Linked DNA regions of Homo sapiens: regions 1, 2 and 4 are each linked to region 3. Evidence: promoter capture Hi-C in 16 types of primary human blood cells and fetal thymus (Javierre and others, 2016). All regions are on one chromosome and are shown on one strand. Each heading gives the region's core, a stretch centred on a gene start or on the middle of the fragment in contact. The rest is flanking DNA. Distances are from core to core; before and after follow the strand shown. Region 1 overlaps FRMD3 (FERM domain containing 3). Region 2 overlaps FRMD3 (FERM domain containing 3). Region 3 holds the start of FRMD3 (FERM domain containing 3). Region 4 overlaps FRMD3 (FERM domain containing 3).

Region 1 (4,271 bases), core at 911-3,410, 220 kb after region 3:
AGTACTGATTGGGATGAATACATAAAGATATTCTCTATATACATATATCACAGTGAAATTTCAGAACACTAAAATGAATAAGGAAATCTTGAAAAGCTTTAGACTTTATTTTTCTAAAGCACAAATTTGACTTAATTCCTCAGGAGTATTCTGTAGATGGCTTTAAAAATGATCTTTTCTATTAAAAGAAAAAGGTGGCCAGGTGAAGTGGCTCATGCCTGCAATCCCAGCACTCTGGGAGGCTGAGGCAGGTGGATTGCTTGAGATCAGGACTTCAAGACTAGCCTGGCTAACATGTCGAAACCCCATCTCTACTAAAAACAAAAATTAGCTGGGTGTGGTGGCGGGCACCAGTAATCCCAGCTACTCCGGAGGTTGAGGCAGGAGAATCATTTGAACCTGGGAGGCAGAGGTTGCAGTGAGCTGAGATTGCACCACTGCACTCCAACCTGGGCAATAGAGTGAGACTCTGTCTCAAAAAAAAAAAAAAAGAAAAAAAAAAAAGAGAAAAAAGAATAAGGTGGCATATATGTCAATCTTCCTTTCCTTCACCGAGTCCTTATGGATAACAGGAAAAGCATTAGAAAAGGAATAGGAGAAAATATCATCTTTGGATCAGAAATCCTGCAACATCTGTGGAAGATAGGAAACAGAAGGGATCCAGGCCAGACACAGACTTAGAATAGCAGTGGTTCTGGGTTTCTGGGTGCCTCCAGGAATACACACAACAGCCATCACAGTGAGTGGGCAACTACATTTGAAGCAAGTGGACAACTTTGACCCCTCCCTCTGGTTGCTTTGTGCTGAGTCATGGGCAGCAGCAGGCTTGAGCGGAAGGTACCCGGTGTGCGTGCCTAGAACTAGAACCTTCGGCCCCCAGTCAAGTTACTGATACATGTTGTATTAGTTGTTCTTGCATTGCTATAAAGAACTACACAAGACTGGGTAATTAAGAGGTTTAATTGGCTCACAGTACCACAGGCTGAACAGGAAGCATGGCTGGAGAGTCCTCAGGAAACTTACAAACGTGGTGGAAGGCAAAGAGGAAGGAGGCACATCTTATGTGGCTGGAGCCTGAGGAAGAGAGAGCAGGGGGAGGTGCTACACACTTGTAAACAACCAGATCTTGTGAGGACTCACTATCCCGAGAACAGCAAGGGAGAAATCTGCCCCCATGATCCAATCACCTCCCGCCAGGCCCCTCCTCCAACGTTGGGGATTACAATTCGACATGAGATTTGGGTGGGGACACAAATCCAAATCATATCACATGCTGTTCCACACGGCACATCCCACTCTTCCCTCAACCTCTGGAGGCTGATACATCAAATATAAAAATGAGAGTCCAACAGGAATCACCAAACACTTAAGGAAACATCAGCTCCACAAATTACAGACTCTGAGTCAGCATACAAAATGACCTTCACCAAGAAAGCAGCATTAATGCAGCCAACAAGATTGGACCTTAATAGAAATGAAGTGGTACCCTCAGAGGGATAAGAGGAATTCATGATCATGAGCTGAGAACAGGCTGCTATTTGAAGATCCACATAGATATTACATTGGAAATGAAATATTTCATTGATATTTAAAAAAAAAACATATCAATGACAGAAGCAGCAGAATGTGCACAGCTGAAGAATAAATTAGCAGGCTGGACATTTGAATTAAGAAATAATTCAGAGCATAGTACCAAAAGACAGAGATATAAAGAATGAAACAAAGATTAAAAGACCTAGGACCTAGAAGTTTCAAGACCCATTTATTAGGGCCTCTCAAAGGAGATAAGAGAGAGAGTGGGAGAGAGAGAGAGTGGTGGAGGAAGTGGGGAAGGGAAGAAAAGAATCAAGAAATAGTCAAAGAAAGATATGCATTGTTGGATTAAAAGGATCTACACTGTGCGGATCATGATGAATAAATAAAGATGCTCCCTAGACATACCACAGTGACTTCAGACGTATCAGTGTAACTCCAGTGCACTAAAGGTAAAGAGATTGTGAAGGGCTCTAGGAATAAAGTAGATGGGATACTGTTTTGATTTAGAGGTATGATGACTCTTTGCTATCTTGAGGGGGTGGGGGGACAATCCGTCTTTGGGAAGGAAGTTAAGTGGAGATAGATTTAATATTGCAATATAATTTTACATTTTGAAAATAAAATGAATTCCTGTTGTTTTCTCTGCTTGGTTGCTAGAATTACATAAATATCCTTGGGGAATGATTGAGATTCTCTAAAATACATGTAGGATATTAATATTAGTCAAAGTGGGGTCTTTGAAATGTTGCATAGTCTTTCTTTAGATGTTAGCCCTGAAAGGGCTTCGCGGTCATCTATATTTGCAGCCCTTTTCTCCCTGAGGCCAAGACCTTGTTTACCACCTCGCAGGACAGTGCTAGGACTAGTGGTTGAGATTTCCTTTTGAAGTCCAGGGCTCTCTGTGGGATGGTTGACAATTCTTTTGGCCTTGATGGCTCTGTTTAGGCTTGTTGATGGGGTAACAGGATTGTGCATTTTTTTCCCTGAGCAAGAAGGCATGCCATTTAACCTGGATAATGTTTTTAAATTAGCAGAAAGAACAGATGATTAGTTTTATTTCGTATTAAGGTTGAATTTGCAAGGGCCTGCTTATTGGTAACTTGATAACCTTGATTAACTGTACGGATCACTGGAGCGCTCAGAGTGCGTGTGGGTTTGTTATGGAACAATTAACTAGAGAACACAAGCTCGGGTTCCTTAGTAAAGGACTCCTTGTGGTGAGAAATAATGATCAGTCTTACTGATTACTATTTATGTAAGGGTTTTTCTCTTTATTTAGCTTAGAACACCATACTTTATTGAATGAAGGGATTCCGAGTTTCTATTCTTTTCCATTTTAACTGCCTCAACTTTTCTTGTGTGATTTTAGGGGGCAGAGCCCACCAGTTGCTGAATTTAACTTGCTCCTGAAAGCTCACACTTTGGAAACCTACGGGGTGGATCCTCACCCATGCAAGGTAACTGCCCCTCACAGCAGGTCACCATATAATGGTTGTTTTGCCCAAAAGAGAGTTTATCTGTGCGCAGGCCTGGCAGAGCCTTGTTAAATCTTTCCCACAGCTTGGCCCACGGTCCCTCATTGGAAGGGACAACAGTGGGCTGCTGTTACATGTTTTGGCAGCTGATTTTCTCCATTGGAGTCTTCCAATTGTTCATTGATTGCCATGTAGTAGCCATATTTTCCTAAATTAACATCCATGGATTCACTCATCAAATGGATGGTTTGGCCCCTGAGGAGTTACAGGCTCCTGACACATTTACTTTCAAGGCCATTGCCAGCAAGAATGGAGTCTTTAAAAAATGGGAAAGTGGAAGGAAAAAAAAGAAAGATTTCAAGTTGCATTTTGGCATTAGGAACACTTGTTTTTATTTTTTCCTTTACTCATATTTGACAGTGTTTCTCTCAAGGATGAAACACAGACTACTTATATCAGAATCTCCTGGACCTCACCCCAGAGCTACTAAATCAGAATTCTGGGGGTACAACTGGGGAATCTGCCTTTTTAATCAAGCTCCCAAGGTGTGATACTTATAGATACATTTTCCAGAAATGTTTCACTGAAGCAACGTTCTTCTTTCCATATATTAGACTATGCATCAGCCAGACACTAGTCCTAATCCTAAACTAAGCATTTTATCAGTTAGGCTCTTAAGTATAAGTTTTGGAGTTTTAGTGGCAAATTTCTTTACCCAGATTGGACTGCCTAATCTTATTTGGCAAAGCATTAGTCCTATAGGTCTCAGCTTGGGCTGCTCATTAGAAACACCTGGAGAGCTTCATTAGCACCTGCTGACCAGAACACATCCCACACCAATTACGTCAGGATCTGCTGGGGAGGAGGGCGGGGCGGGGCGCAGGGCGGCGGAGGGGGAGTGGTGGGTGCGGCGACCAGGCTACCCAGGTGTTTCCAATGTGCAGCCAAGGCGGAGAGCCAGGGGTACTTGTCCATACTAGCATTTACATCCTCTTGTTCTGCCTACGCAAATGTTGGAATATTTACCAGCGGCTCTTTCCTAGAATGGTACTAATCAGTTTATTCATTTTAGTGAATTTTATGCAGAAATTTGAACTGTATTTTATTTATTTCTTGGAGACTGACTTGATCTTTGTGTTGTTATTCCTTTGCCTTCACTTATCTACAAGATGCTTAGTTTTCCTGGTCTAGGCTGGAAGCACAGTAAGCTTTTCTGGAGATATTTTTATACTGAAATTTCCAGAAATCCTGTGAGAGATT
Region 2 (4,201 bases), core at 700-3,199, 130 kb after region 3:
CTGTATTAACGAGCTAATATATGTAAATGGCTCAGCACAGTGTCTGGCACATAATATGTGCTAAAAATGTTTGCTCTTATTAAGAAATTTGGGTGGTTGTAATCATACACAAGCATTTGCTGTGGCCAATTTCCTCTGAAGAGTCTCACATTCTTTTTCAAAAGTTTTTGTCCATCCTCTGAACTAACGTGGGGAAAAGCTAGTCAAGGTTTCCCTGTGCTGATGGAGTGGTTTTTTGTTTGTTTGTTTTTGATGGAAGGCAGAAGTTGGGTTACAAGGCAGAGAGCCTCATCTGGAGAGCAATTAGGAGCTTAATAAATAAAAGACCAGTTTGATAAATGCTAGAAGGGAACTTGAAAGTTAAGGACGGGAAGAGTGGGGAGCTGATCCCATTTTTGAACAGTAACATGCAATATTGAGAGCGAGCATTCAGTTCAATGCGCCTGGCTTCCTTCTTGTCCTGAGTTTGATACTGTGTGCTTTTAACATCTTCATGAGCCTTCTGCATCACATCCCACCTCAAATGGGGCTGCATTCTGGGAACCTGGTGGAGAAAAGGTTGACCTCCATGCCTGGGGATGGACAACCTTTGCTTTCCCGAGTATGCTGCTGACCTGCATGGAACTGATTCTTTGGGGGCAATAGAGAGGTGTATGTAATTTATCGCAGCATTCTTTGAGCTGCCTGGGTAGACTTTCAGGACAATGGATTGCACACTATGTTGGCTCTGGCAGGGTTGCTGCTCTCTTCCTTCTCGCCTCTTTCTCAGGAGGGAATGGGAAATCCATTTCCAAATTGAGCTGTGTGTGGTCTCCCCACCATCTTCCCTGCACCTGAATGGTTAATCTTCCAGTTCACGTGTTTCTGCATGGATTGTGTCCGAGGGTGCCTGTGGTAGCAGCTTAACTCTGCTCTGGTAATTAGTGATGAAAGGAGAGGATGCAGAAGGCTCAACCTGAGAGGCAGAATGACTTCACTGAAGAGTCAAGTCAGAAGAAATAAAATTTAGGGGTTGACACCAAGGTCAGTTCCCAAACCCAGGCTGGAAGAGATACAGTAATCTATTTTCCATAAATCAACCTAGTTTTCATATCAAGCCCCTTTCCCCCTGGGGTAGCTGGAAACATTTTCATGTGTCTTTTCTGAACTTTCCCCCACCTGGGGGTTGTGCCTAGTTTCTGGAGTCTCACTGGGTGCCAAGAAATGGGAGGGAGGCATGTTCATTATTGGCTAGATGTCCACATCAGCCTGACCCTTGGGCCCAGTGGGGGTTCTTAGGACATGACAACCTGGTGAGGGCAGAAAGCCCCATGTTTGTGATATTTTTTTTTTCCTAGATAGACCATATTTTTCCTCCCGAATATCCTTGTGCCAACACAGAGCACATCCAGGGAGCAAGCTTGGTTCATACAGCTTGTTCCTTTCTTCGTTTTAATCTGAAAGAAGAATCTTTTATTCCCCTGTGGCACATTAAATAAAGATAGCCATACATTCTTTGCTTTCATCTCGTTGAGAGGACATGTTTAATTCCCTTTCCCTTGAATCCAGGTTGGCCATAGTGACTCACTTGTAATCAGTAGAATGCAGTGGAAGTGACAATGTGTGAAAAGCAACCTCTGCCTGGACCCTTTGGGAATGCTCATCTTGCAGGAGGCTGGCTGCTGATGGAGAAGTCTGGCTTCCTGGAGACTGCCATGGTGTAAGGAAGCCCAAGCTAGCTACACACATGGAGAGCTGCATGGAGAGAAAGAGAAAGAGAAAGGGGAGGGAGAGAGAAAGATGAGAGAGAGAGAGAGAGAGAGAGAGAAAGATGAGAGAGAGAGAGAGAGAGAGAGAGAGAGAGAGAGACTCAACAACCCCCCTCCTCTGCTGGCCAGACCAGTCTAGGCACCAGACATGTGAGTGAAGAAATCTTCAGTTGCTTCCACATCAGACTCCAGTAATATAGAGGAACCCAGACAAGATCCATCCAGTTGAGCTCAGTCAATACAAAGAACTGTGAGAGAATACTTATTGGTTTTTGCTCCTATGTTTTAGAGTGGCTTGTTACACAGGAACAGATAACTAGAACACTTCTCATATTCTATTCTCAGTGGATTTAGACATATGAAAACAAAATCCAAGAGGTCTCACCAGCTACTAATTTTCATTCTGCTACATATAGCCTCCAAGGAGGGTAGGGATTGTGGAGCCGAATGCCTTTTTAAAGTGGGAGTGGAGGCTGGGGGAAATACAGAGATTAAAAATTCCCTAAGTTATATCTACACAATTTTCTCCCATAATTTAGACTTCTAGTAGTATGCAATTCCACCATTATATCCTTGTTGGGGTTGGCCATTTTTAGAATTTTTGGATTTGGGAAGTGGATAGGTAAAAATGGTGCTTTGTTATGGTTTAATGAATATTTGTACCAAGTATTTACTGTGTGTACAAATTATCCTGTAAAGTACAATGAAAAACTTGATGAAAAATAAGTTCACTTGAGAAAAGGAAGCTTAAGATAAGTGATGAAACTGGAATTACACCATCATGAGAAATGACCGTGACAGTATTTCATCCATTTCCAAATGAGGTCAGAGGACAGAAAGGTCAGCGAGGGTGTGGGGAGTCTGTGAGGCCTCTCATGCAGAAGCAGGATCTGCAGCGAACTCTCTGCCAGGATCAGGTGAACACATCAGTGACAAAATTTTGATAGGTGGTGAGAAGGGCTTTATTCACACAGGGGAATGGCAAGAGTGAAACCAACCATGGTGGTGGGGCATTTTGCGGAGTATTTGGAGTGATAAAATAAACTGGAGGAAAATATGGAAAATAAATTAAACAGAAAACAACAACAGGAACAACAACAAAATAAAACCCAGCAACTTGAAGAAGAGATACATACAGTTTACATTTCTGGATTTCTCTGCTCTCTTCTATGGGCTGTGTCCTCACCGATGCTGGCTAACATTTACTGACCACCAAATAAGGACCCGTTGACAACATGTCAATTGCCCAATGGCAAGGAACCAACTCTCTGAGATGATGCATATAACTTGGGGGAGCAGCACTCGTGGGTTGAAAGTTACGTTCTGATCTGGGAGGGTTATCATCAGGACCTTGTCTTGACTCACAAGAGAAAAAGCCATCCTTCCTTCCTTTCCTGAGCTCTTTAAAATTAACCAGTGAGTTACCTGTGGGAACTTTCCTCCATCCTAAGAGCCCTAGCTGGAATCTTTGGGCTGCTGTTTTTCTTTGTGTGCACAAAGCATATATGTATAAGTTCTGCAGTGGAGACCCGGAGTAAGGCTACCCAACTGGTCCTCCAGACACTGCAGTTCATTGTGAGGAATTCCTTGGCTCTAGTAGCCTTTGACTTTTCTCCTTCTCATCTTCTAACTTGTGGCCATGATGATGGGAAGAAAAGATTGGGAGGCCCTTCACAGAAGGAGATGGGAACTAGGAGGTGTGGGTGGACGGAGGGAGGGGAAAGCAGGGAAGATTGGTGTTAGTGACTGGAGGCAGAAGACTCAGAGGACTACTTTCTGTGCTCTGTGAGATCCGAAGACTCCTGCAGCTCCTTAGCAATGCTGTTTATCTGCTTTCTGATTTCCAACCCCAGCTGCCTTGCATTAGTGGCACAGCCAAATTCTCAGTATGTATGCTAGGGGGCAGTAGGAAGGGAGAATGGAATGTGATAGAATTGCTGGAAAAAAAAAAGAAATTGCCTATGTGAAATGAAACACAAGTTACTGTTTGCTTTAATCTGTGACCGAGTAAAATTGGCAGAATTTTCGTCAGGACGGAAAGTAAGAACCAATTATGCAGCTCAGCCCTACTCCAACAAACTGTCAAACTAAAAACCTCTGCCAGCTCTGGTCCCACCCTCACTGCAGGCATGGGCTTGGAGGGAGATGATGGACACTTTCTTTCTTTTTTTTTTTTTGACTGAGTTTCGCTCTTGTTGCCGAGGCTGGAGTGCAATGGCGCGATCTTGGCTCACCACAAGATCGGGTTCAAGCAATTCTCCTGCCTCAGCCTCCCAAGTAGCTGAGATTACAGGCATGTGCCACCATGCCCGGCTAATTTTTTTTTTTTTGCATTTTTAGTGGAGATGGGGTTTCTTCATGTTGGTCAGGCTGGTCTCGAACTCCCAACCTCAGGTGATCTACCTGCCTCGGCCTCCCAAAGTGCTGGGATTACAGGTGTGAGCCACTGTGCC
Region 3 (4,492 bases), core at 140-2,639:
TTTCCAGGAGCAGATACTGAGACTGAGTTTGTCCTGTGTGGTATTTATTAGTGATCAACAGGGAGAGGAGGCAGGAGCAGGCAGAGAGAGAAGTCCAAATGCAATGCGGACTCCCCCAAACCTTAGCCAACCCCACTAGGTGTCCTAGAGAATATATGGCCCACCAGACTGTCCAGGGCAGGTAAAATTTGTGTGCCACTCTTCCTCGACCCCCAGGACAGGGCATATCTTTGGATGAGGGGACTCTATGCAGGCACAAACCTTGAAAAAGCTGACAGCTGGTCAACACCTCCTCTTCTAACAAATGTTCCTTCCTAATGACCTGTTCTGCTCCGGCAAGAGCAACAGGGTGAGAGGACTTCCATCTCTCCCAGCTCCTGGACATTCTAGTGCTCACATTCAAGCTCCATACCCCTGACTCAACAGCTGCTCCTGGCCACTCTCGGGCCTACGGTACCTGACACAGTGGCTCTAGCCACCTTGGGGACAACAGAGAGGCAGGATACCTCCTACCTTCAACACCCTGGAGGCGCGTGGGGAATTCCAGAGTCCTCAATACCCAGAGATTGGACTAAAACGGGATGGGGCACATCCGCTTTGCCATTAGACCTCTTAATTCCTGAGCAACCGGGAACTGGAGGAGGTCTGTAAAGCAGGGGAGTAGGATAGGAACCTATCCCTCTTGCTCGGGTCAAAGGTATGCTATCAAAGATCACACTAAGATGTTGGGAGATTTAAAGGAGGATTTGCACATGGAAGGCTCTTTTTTGGAGAAAGAGACTGAGTCCTAGCTAGCATTAAATAAAACAATGGCTTAAACAATCTCCATGAGTACCAGAGATTTTTACTATTAGCGATATTCCTGGTGTAGCCGTGTCAGGGCTGTCACTCTCTCTGTCACTCGCCCTGGGCCCAGCAATCCTTTCCCGAGGCGGAATCCCCCTGGCGGTGTGGGTCAGGATCGCTCTCCGTCCCCTACCCGCGCCAGGTCCCTGGAGCTGAGCAGAGCAGGGCGCTGTCGAGCGCGTTGGGGAGCCGGGGCCGGGACGAGCACAACCGGGAGCCCGAGCGACAGCGGCCAGGGGAGGGAGGAGGCGGTGAGGCTGAGGAAGGCAGTCGGGCCCAGCTTGACGCAGCGGCGGCTGCGACTGAGCAGGCCACCACCAGGGCACCCGGGCCAGCCGCGCCAGCCATCCCTCCGCCTCCTCCTTCAGCTGCTCGGCGCGCGTGGGAGTGAGTGCGTCGCGAGCCCGCCGGGGGTCTCAGGCTCTGGGCGTCCTCGGCGAGCGAGCCCGGGCAGAGGGAGGCGCACGAGCGCGCGCGACAGAAGGAGGCGGGGAAAGGAGGGGGCGAGGCGGAGGCGAGCGAACAGAGGGAGGGACCCGCCCGCCGCGCCCCGGCCGCTGGGCATGTGTGTCCGCAGGCGCCCGACGCTGCCGATGTCCCGGGGCTGAGCCGCGCCCAGGTGTCCCGGACAGTGCGTGCGAGCGTGTGTGTCCGCGCAGGCGAGCACCGCGCCGGCCCTGAGCCTCCCGCTCGCTCCCCACGGCCGCGGTGCATGTTCGCCTCCTGCCACTGTGTGCCGAGAGGCAGGAGGACCATGAAAATGATCCACTTTCGGAGCTCCAGCGTCAAATCGCTCAGCCAGGAGATGAGATGCACCATCCGGCTGCTGGACGACTCGGAGATCTCCTGCCACATCCAGGTGCGCGTGGAACCGGGCGAGGGCGCGGGGCACACGCCGGGAGCAGGGCGGGGGGCCTTTGCGGTGGGCATGCGAGAACAAGGAACCCACTCCCGGAGGGGATTGGGGGACTGCTAGAAAGCCAGATTTCGATTCCTCAGGCCTCTGAGGGTGGGGGGCCTTATCCTGGCATGGAGGGGCATGGTGCCCTGCAAGCGCCAGGCACGCGTTATCCGCGCCCAGTCTCCTTCCCCTCGCGTGCACCCTGCGCGCGCGTCTCACTGCGCCCGGGCTAGGGGCGCGGGGCAGCTGCCTCCGGAGGGACTCTGGCCCCTCTGGGCCCTACTCCGCCAGGAGATGGGAGCTCCGAGGGCTGAGAGGGGCACCTGCATGTCGCCCACTGGTATTTCCTCCCTTCTTCCACGTGGAGAAGGCATGCATCAGCTGGGTTCACTCATTTCTGTCTCCCGCGCCCAGGCTCCGGAGACGCCCTCAGTCCCGGAACCTGCTTTCCGCTCCGTGTCGGTCCCCCTCACCCTCCGCCGGTGGTCTTTAGTTCTCCGCGTGGGGCGGTGGCGAAGTTTCCCCAGAGTGAGAGAGGCCGGGCTGCCCTGGGCGCCAGCCTTGAGGGATGGAGCGCGCGCTGCGCCGGACTGGAGCTACCTCGAAAGGAATGTGTGAAGTCTGAGTGTTTCGGAGAAAGGAAAAGGGATTGTGAGGCCAGCAAGTGGGGAGCCCTGCAGGAACCTGGGTCCTGGGTAAAAGAGCCCCGTGGAATCTTGGTGGACATTCACTGTCGCCCAAGTTGGAGGAGAAGGCGAGTTGTTTGGGAGAAGGCAGCTTTGCTGGCAGCCCTGTCCTCGGGTAGTAAGTGCCTCTGGGCTGTCAGGAGAGCTAGTGTGAGGTGCAAAGGTGTGTGTGTGCATGTGGTTGCGCGTGCGTGTGCATATTTGCTGTGGGTGAATATGTAGGCAGGTGGGAGCCCCTCTTCCAGGACCCCAAAGATGCCCCACTCGGTGCGCACACAATCAGGAAAGGTTGTGTCAGGGCTCAGCACAATTAACTTCTGACTTCTAAATCTATTTAACTGTTTATCTCTGGGATTTCCTTTCTCACCTACCCTAGTCGAGTCTTGAGGCTCTGGGACTGAGCTTTTTTTTTTTTTTTTTTTTTTTAGTGTAATACAGGGCACACCACCCATGTCAGTGGGAGGTGAGTGGGGCAGCATCTCCCAGAGTAGGAATCAGCCTCTAGGCTGTGCAAACCATGAAGGAATGAAAGGACTTTCCCTGTTTTATTTTTATTTAATTTTTGTTAGTGGGAGTGTGTGACATGTTGGGGGCAGTTGCAATTAATTTGTAACCTGACAGCCGGACAAGTGTCAAGGTAGGAATGTGATGCCCCATGATCTCCCAGGAAAGTAGGCTCCCATTGAATTTTCTGGGGGAGCTTGAATTTCATTCTGAGCTAAGCAGCACTGCTAAACTTAATAATAAAAGGATTAGCAGGATAGGCAGTGTTTCTACTGCCACAAGGGTTGCACAGAAGCATCTGGCATGTACTAATAGTCTTGTGATCCAGAGAGTGTGGACTGTGCACTTTGCTTTAAGTCCTAAAGTGGGTGTACAGGTCCTTTAACCCATAATGAATGTGTAGATGATGGAGGGGCCGTCAGGGAGAGAGGCTGTTGAGTTCTCCTCTGTCTCTCAGCCCTCTTCTGCCCTGTACCACTTGGTGTTGACATTTTTTTCCCCTCCCTCAGGATGAAGTCTTCCTTAGAATAATAAATATTCCCCAAAGGACATGTATTTGTTGTCTTGTGTTTTGAGAAACAATAAATTGTAGCCAGTCTAACAACAGTTTGAAAAACTCCAGTGCTTATGACCCAACTAGTGCCAAAGAGGTTAAAATGTTATGTTTCAAAATGTTGGCTTGGGCACTGATTTTTAAAAAATTATGATGTTTCATTTTGTGATTTGTCTTTTTCTGCCCTTTCTGCCCCCAAATTACAATTATTATTTAACCAATTAAAATAAATTAAAATATTTTATTTGGATAACTTTAGACCTCACACTTTCCTAGAGTACTCCAGACCAGGAATTGAAATTGCCCTTCCGGGTATCAGGTAACAAAGACTTCCCATTTGCTTAGAGTGAGAACAAAAGGATTAAAAAACAATGCGAAACAAAACCATTTGGAATTACTGGCACTTGTTCTGGGTGAATCCATCTGTGTTTGCTTCCTTCCTTCTATAGAACTACAAAGTTAAAGGATTGTATATATTGTCACAGAATGTCACCCTCTCTCCATAGCCCACATCTGCCTGTCTGCGTTAGGAGCTCTCATCCCTGGTGTCTGCCTGGCTCTGGAGCAGGGGTGTCCAATTTTCTGGCTTCCCTGGGCCACATTGGAAGAAGAAGAATTGTCTTGGGCCACACATAAAATACACTAACGCTAACGATAGCTGATGAGCTAAAAAAAAAAAAATCACAAAAAGTCTCATAATGTTTTAAGAAAGTTTATGAATTTCTGTTGGGCTGCATCCAAAGCTGTCCTGGGCCATGGGTTGGATGAGCTTGATCTAGAGGCTCTGTAGGAGGAGCAGGAGCTCTTGGACATGTGTTAGTTGTTCACTCCTGTTCACTACAGGAGTGCTGCCTATGGAGCCCCAAAATAAGTAGGGGAAACTCAAGCCACACATCCTTGGGAGCTCATTAGTCTGTGTTCTCTAGTAGGTAAGCATTCCAGATTCAAAGAAAAATGAGCCACTCAAACAGGTTTCTCTAGCAAGGTGCTGGAGAGTGGCCA
Region 4 (4,392 bases), core at 1,867-4,366, 180 kb after region 3:
AAGACTTATAGACATATTGTTGAGTTTAAAAATCAGATTAAAAGACCACGTAAATAATGATACTTTTATATAAAAATAGAATTTTTTCATGTGACTATATAGCGTGTAGAAGAAGAACTGGAAAGATGTATACTTAACTGTGGTTACCTCTGGGGAAGAGAGCATAATATAGGGACATGAGGCTTTCGCATTTTATTATATGTAGTTATGTTACACTCATATCTTTTACCATGAGAATATATTCTTATATGACTTGGTAATAAAAATAAAATAAGCAAAAGGAGAGAAATCTTTATGCAAAACAAGGAAGGAAGGGAGGAAGGAGGGAAGGAAGTAGAGAAGGAAGGAAGAAAGGAAGGAAGGAGGGAGGAAAGGAAGGAAGGAAGAAAGAAAGCAAGGAAGTAGGGAGGAAAGGAAGGAAGGAGGAAAGAAAGGGAGGAAGGAGGGAAGGAAGGAGGGAGGGAAGGAAGGAGGGAGGGAAGGAAGGAGGGAGGGAAGGAAGGAGGGAGGGAAGGAAGGAGGGAGGGAAGGAAGGAAAAAGGAAGGAAGGAGGGAAGGAAATAAGGAAGGAAGGAGAGAAGGAAGGAAGGAGAGAAGGAAGGAAGGAAGCAGGATGCATATGCATTAAGCATGTTCTATAGAAACAGACTGAGATGAAAGAAAGCTCACTTACTCTTCTAAACAAGCTCTCCACTTAATCCTGGCTGGTGCCTGTCTGAGGCCTGATTAGCACAGCAAGGTAGTTAAGATCCTATTCTTGCCCTATTTACCAGAGACTGTGCTGCTCCCAAGCACCCTGAAGGGGCAGGGGTGCTTGGAAATGGCTTCTGCATGCAAATCAGGGTAGGCAGGAACCCCCAGCCTCTGCATAACACATGCATACAACTCAGCCATAATAGCAGTACTGAGTCAAGTTGTTGCTGGCTGATGACAGTGGTGCTCAGAAGTTGTGATGGCACTCCCTGGAAACCTGGGATGGTGTGGAATTCCTGACTTTGATGGTGATAGTCTTGGTACTTCATGTTTATGTCTCATTCATTAGCTTTCCAACATCCCCCTTGGGGCTAATCTAACAAATAGCTCTCTTGCTAATGAATGATTTTTTGTCAATAGGAAATTGAGATTGAGATTGAGAGAGAGAGAGAGAGAGAGAGAGAGAGAGAGAACCAACAGCATCGATTTTGCTCTGGTGTAAAGCCACAGGTCTCATACTCATGAGGCCAGCTTGGATGATTGACTCTCAACTCTACTTGTTCTTCCAGTTTTCCCCTTGCTGAGTGTGTTAGTTTCTCTGGGCATCCATAATAAATTATCACATACTGGGTGGCTTAAAACAATAGAAATCTACTTGCTCACAGTTCTGGAGGCCAGAAGTCTGAAACCAAGTTGTCAGCAGGGCCATGCTCCCTCCGAAGGCTCTAGGGAAGAATGCTTCCTGCCTTTTCTGGCTTCTGCTGGTTTCCTGCAGTCCTTGGCCTTCCTTGGCTTGTAGCTGCCTCACTCCACACTCTGCCTCCATCTTCACATGGTGCCTCCCTATGTTTCTCTGTGCCCTGTGTCAAAGTCTCACTCTCCTTTCTCTTATAAAGATATCAGTCAATGGATTTAGGGACCACCCTAACCTAATATGAATGCATTGTAATTAATTAATCAATTACATCTACAAAGACCCTATTTCCAAATAGGGTTCCATTCTGAGGTTCTAGGTGGACATGGGTTTTTTAGATCTCCAGTACTCTCAGCATTTTTCTTTAGCCTCTTTCTTTAGCTTACTACCTCTAGCCCCCTTTGTGTATGTTGTTCTGTTTTGCTGACCTTGGTCACATGCTTTTGACAGTAAAGCTTTGCACAATTCATTTCTTCCAATCCCTGTTGTGGCTGTAACCCTGCCTCCAGAGTGAGGGGCAGCCTATGCTATCATCCTCATTCGTATAACCTACTTGTCTAATCATAATCTCCAGCACTGGGTTTGGAAAATTTCTTCACCTGTTCCATGGCTTTGTATAAAATGTTATGCATGTTATTGATTCATAATAAATGCTTTCTGACTAGGATTAAAATGCTCTTTTTACAGCACAGGTGGAAGTTCAAATGCTATTTTTTTACAAAAAAAAGCAAAACATACAACTGAACACAGCTCATTACATAAATCAAAAAGTACAAAGTCCCCAAGTACTATGGTTTAGTTTTGGATGCCTTTGTTCTTCCCAGTTTTCTTCTTCCAAAGCTTCTTTCCAAGAAGAGCAGCTATGATTTTTGTTTCAGCCATGGAGTGTCTCCAGCGTTGGACACCTGTTTGCTTACCTTGTTCTAGAGACAGCTCATTAGGTTGGGCCAGGTATCTGTTATTCTACCAAGTTCAACTGTTCATCAAAATTTTTATATTTGATCCTTCTCCCAGAAAGTTAATGCAATTTGAGCCTATAAATGGTTTCCATGTTGTGCTCTTTCTTTGTTTCCCAATATGGAAGGAGAGGACAGTAACAATAGTAATGACAAAAACCCTTAATTTTATAGCATGCAGTTCTAAATGATGTGCACACTTGACAAGCCATAGATTTCTAATTTTTAACTTTATGCTTATGCAATGGTTGGTGGCAACACTGACATCATTTTGATTGGGTGCAGTAGTGTGTGCAGGGGTTTCAGGGAGTACCTAGCACTCCTCGTGGGAAGCGGGGTAGTGTGACAGGGGTAGTGGAGGAAGCAGAAGGAATAGGAGCCTCTCCTGGGGGAAGTCCTTATATCTCTGGGGCAGTACTTTCAGGGGCTTTCTTCTTCCTTCAGGAATGCCCGCATTCTTTCTTAGGGGCCCACACGACTCAAAACTACACATGCTGGCAGCATGAGTGTCTGAATGATAACCATGATGGGCAGGAGGTTCCATGCTCGGTATGTGAGTACTAGAGGTGGTTCAAGTGTGGGCCAAGTGGGTAGGAAGGCTTTGTTCATGTCTCCCTTTGGTGGGAGAGCCTTTATAATGCCTGATTTTTGGATGCAACTTTATAGTATCAAATCTCAATACCAAGTTATGTAAGTAGTTGAATTTTTCTGTTACAGTTGTTATTTCTACATATTGATTTACACCTATCAACATGACTCCAAGGGTCTGGCTAGTTATACAACATCAGCAGCAAACAGGTTCCTGGGTCTCTTGCCTTCAGTTTCATGTGTTCTTGCTAACCTTTTGGCTAAAATGTTTAGGTCATTGTACCCTCGGCTCAGGCAGCAAAGCTGTCCTTTAGATGCCAGGGCTGCCAAATATCTCTTCATATACACACCTGTCTCATGCCCACTTCTTCCTCACTCCTCCCTGAGAGATGACAGTGCCCCCTCACTCTTTCAACCCAGGTAAAAGGCAAGGTAACATTGAAGGACTTGACTTTAGCCATGTTGGTTTCTTCCCTGCACTTTAGAGTAACAATAATTCCTATGCATTCAGTCCACAGGTCTCAGCAGGCTGCGAAGTGCTTTGCAGTCATGAACTCATGTCATCCTCATTGTGGTCTCTACGCAGTCATGAACTCATGTCATCCTCATTGTGGTCTCTACGACGGGTCGCAGGCCACACCTAGTCACCACCTATGTTCATATGGCCTTTGGTCTAGGAATAGGTTTCACATTTTTAAATGGTTGAAAAAAACCAAAAGATATATAAGATTTTTGTGGCATACAAAAATGATACAAATTCAAACTTCAGTGTTTTATTGGAGCACAGCTATACACACTTGTTTATGTATTGGTGGTGGCTGCTTCTCTACTACAACAACTGGGTGGAGTCGTTGAGACAGAAAACTCGAGCCTTCCAAAGTTGAAAATATTTATTCTCTAGCCCTTTACAGAGAAAGTTTGATGCCCTGCTCTCTGTGGTTGGTTCCATTATTATTCCCATTTTACAGATGAGGAAATGGAGGCAGGGAGTTTTAAGTTTGGACGCAGCAATTTGTTCAAATGACAAACTTGAGGTTAGAAGTATGGGACCCCAAAGTCTCTTTTCAAGCTTCTCCTGAGCAGGCATAGGCAGGAAGAGAATTCAGAGACCAAGGATTTGTGAGGCAACCACTCAGCATTCCAATCTCCCTTAAGAGAGTTCTCTGAGTGACTGTAGTCAGTGCCTACGAGTGTGGGTGGGCATGCCTGTGTGTGATAAAAGCATAGGAGGGAACTGTAACGAGAGGAAGATGAATTAAACATGATTTTAAAAACCTGTCTCTGCTTTGGAAGCTGGGGAAACACAGTGATTATCATTTCAGTAAGAGTGGGGGAAGGATCATCACTGTTGCTGATGATGCTGATAGTAACAGTTGTTGTTTAATGATTATAATCATTTCCATGTAGAAGAGAGCAGTCATGAATGCAGCCTGCACTCTCTGTGGCTGGCTTATTTACACA

Evidence for each region. The method cuts DNA at HindIII sites, captures the fragments that hold promoters and counts their contacts. A CHiCAGO score of 5 or more calls a contact.
Region 1: a contact is called between a fragment that was not itself captured here and the fragment with the promoter of FRMD3 in region 3, in 1 of 17 cell types (M2 macrophages). The highest score is 6.7, in M2 macrophages.
Region 2: a contact is called between a fragment that was not itself captured here and the fragment with the promoter of FRMD3 in region 3, in 5 of 17 cell types (M2 macrophages, M0 macrophages, neutrophils and 2 more). The highest score is 12.5, in M2 macrophages.
Region 4: a fragment that was not itself captured here is called in contact with the fragment with the promoter of FRMD3 in region 3 in 5 of 17 cell types (M0 macrophages, M2 macrophages, neutrophils and 2 more); the score reaches 9.7 in M0 macrophages.

The regions. Positions count from the first base shown.
Region 1 is chr9:83,312,382-83,316,652 of GRCh38, reverse strand. It overlaps FRMD3 (FERM domain containing 3), which reads left to right. Exons shown (of 14, transcript NM_174938.6): 7 at 2,906-2,993. Among named protein-coding and RNA genes, the nearest start is that of FRMD3-AS1, 95 kb to the right of the region's middle. The HindIII fragment of the contact is 4,123 bases long and covers 99-4,221 here.
Region 2 is chr9:83,405,485-83,409,685 of GRCh38, reverse strand. All of the region lies in intron 1 of FRMD3 (FERM domain containing 3), which reads left to right. Among named protein-coding and RNA genes, the nearest start is that of FRMD3, 130 kb to the left of the region's middle. The HindIII fragment of the contact is 1,095 bases long and covers 1,402-2,496 here.
Region 3 is chr9:83,535,298-83,539,789 of GRCh38, reverse strand. FRMD3 (FERM domain containing 3) reads left to right here and starts at 1,389. Exons shown (of 14, transcript NM_174938.6): 1 at 1,389-1,705. The coding sequence starts at 1,559. RefSeq lists a silencer at 3,142-3,436. The HindIII fragment of the contact is 8,384 bases long and covers 1-4,492 here.
Region 4 is chr9:83,358,949-83,363,340 of GRCh38, reverse strand. The region is part of intron 3 of FRMD3 (FERM domain containing 3); the gene reads left to right. Among named protein-coding and RNA genes, the nearest start is that of FRMD3-AS1, 140 kb to the right of the region's middle. The HindIII fragment of the contact is 1,773 bases long and covers 2,230-4,002 here.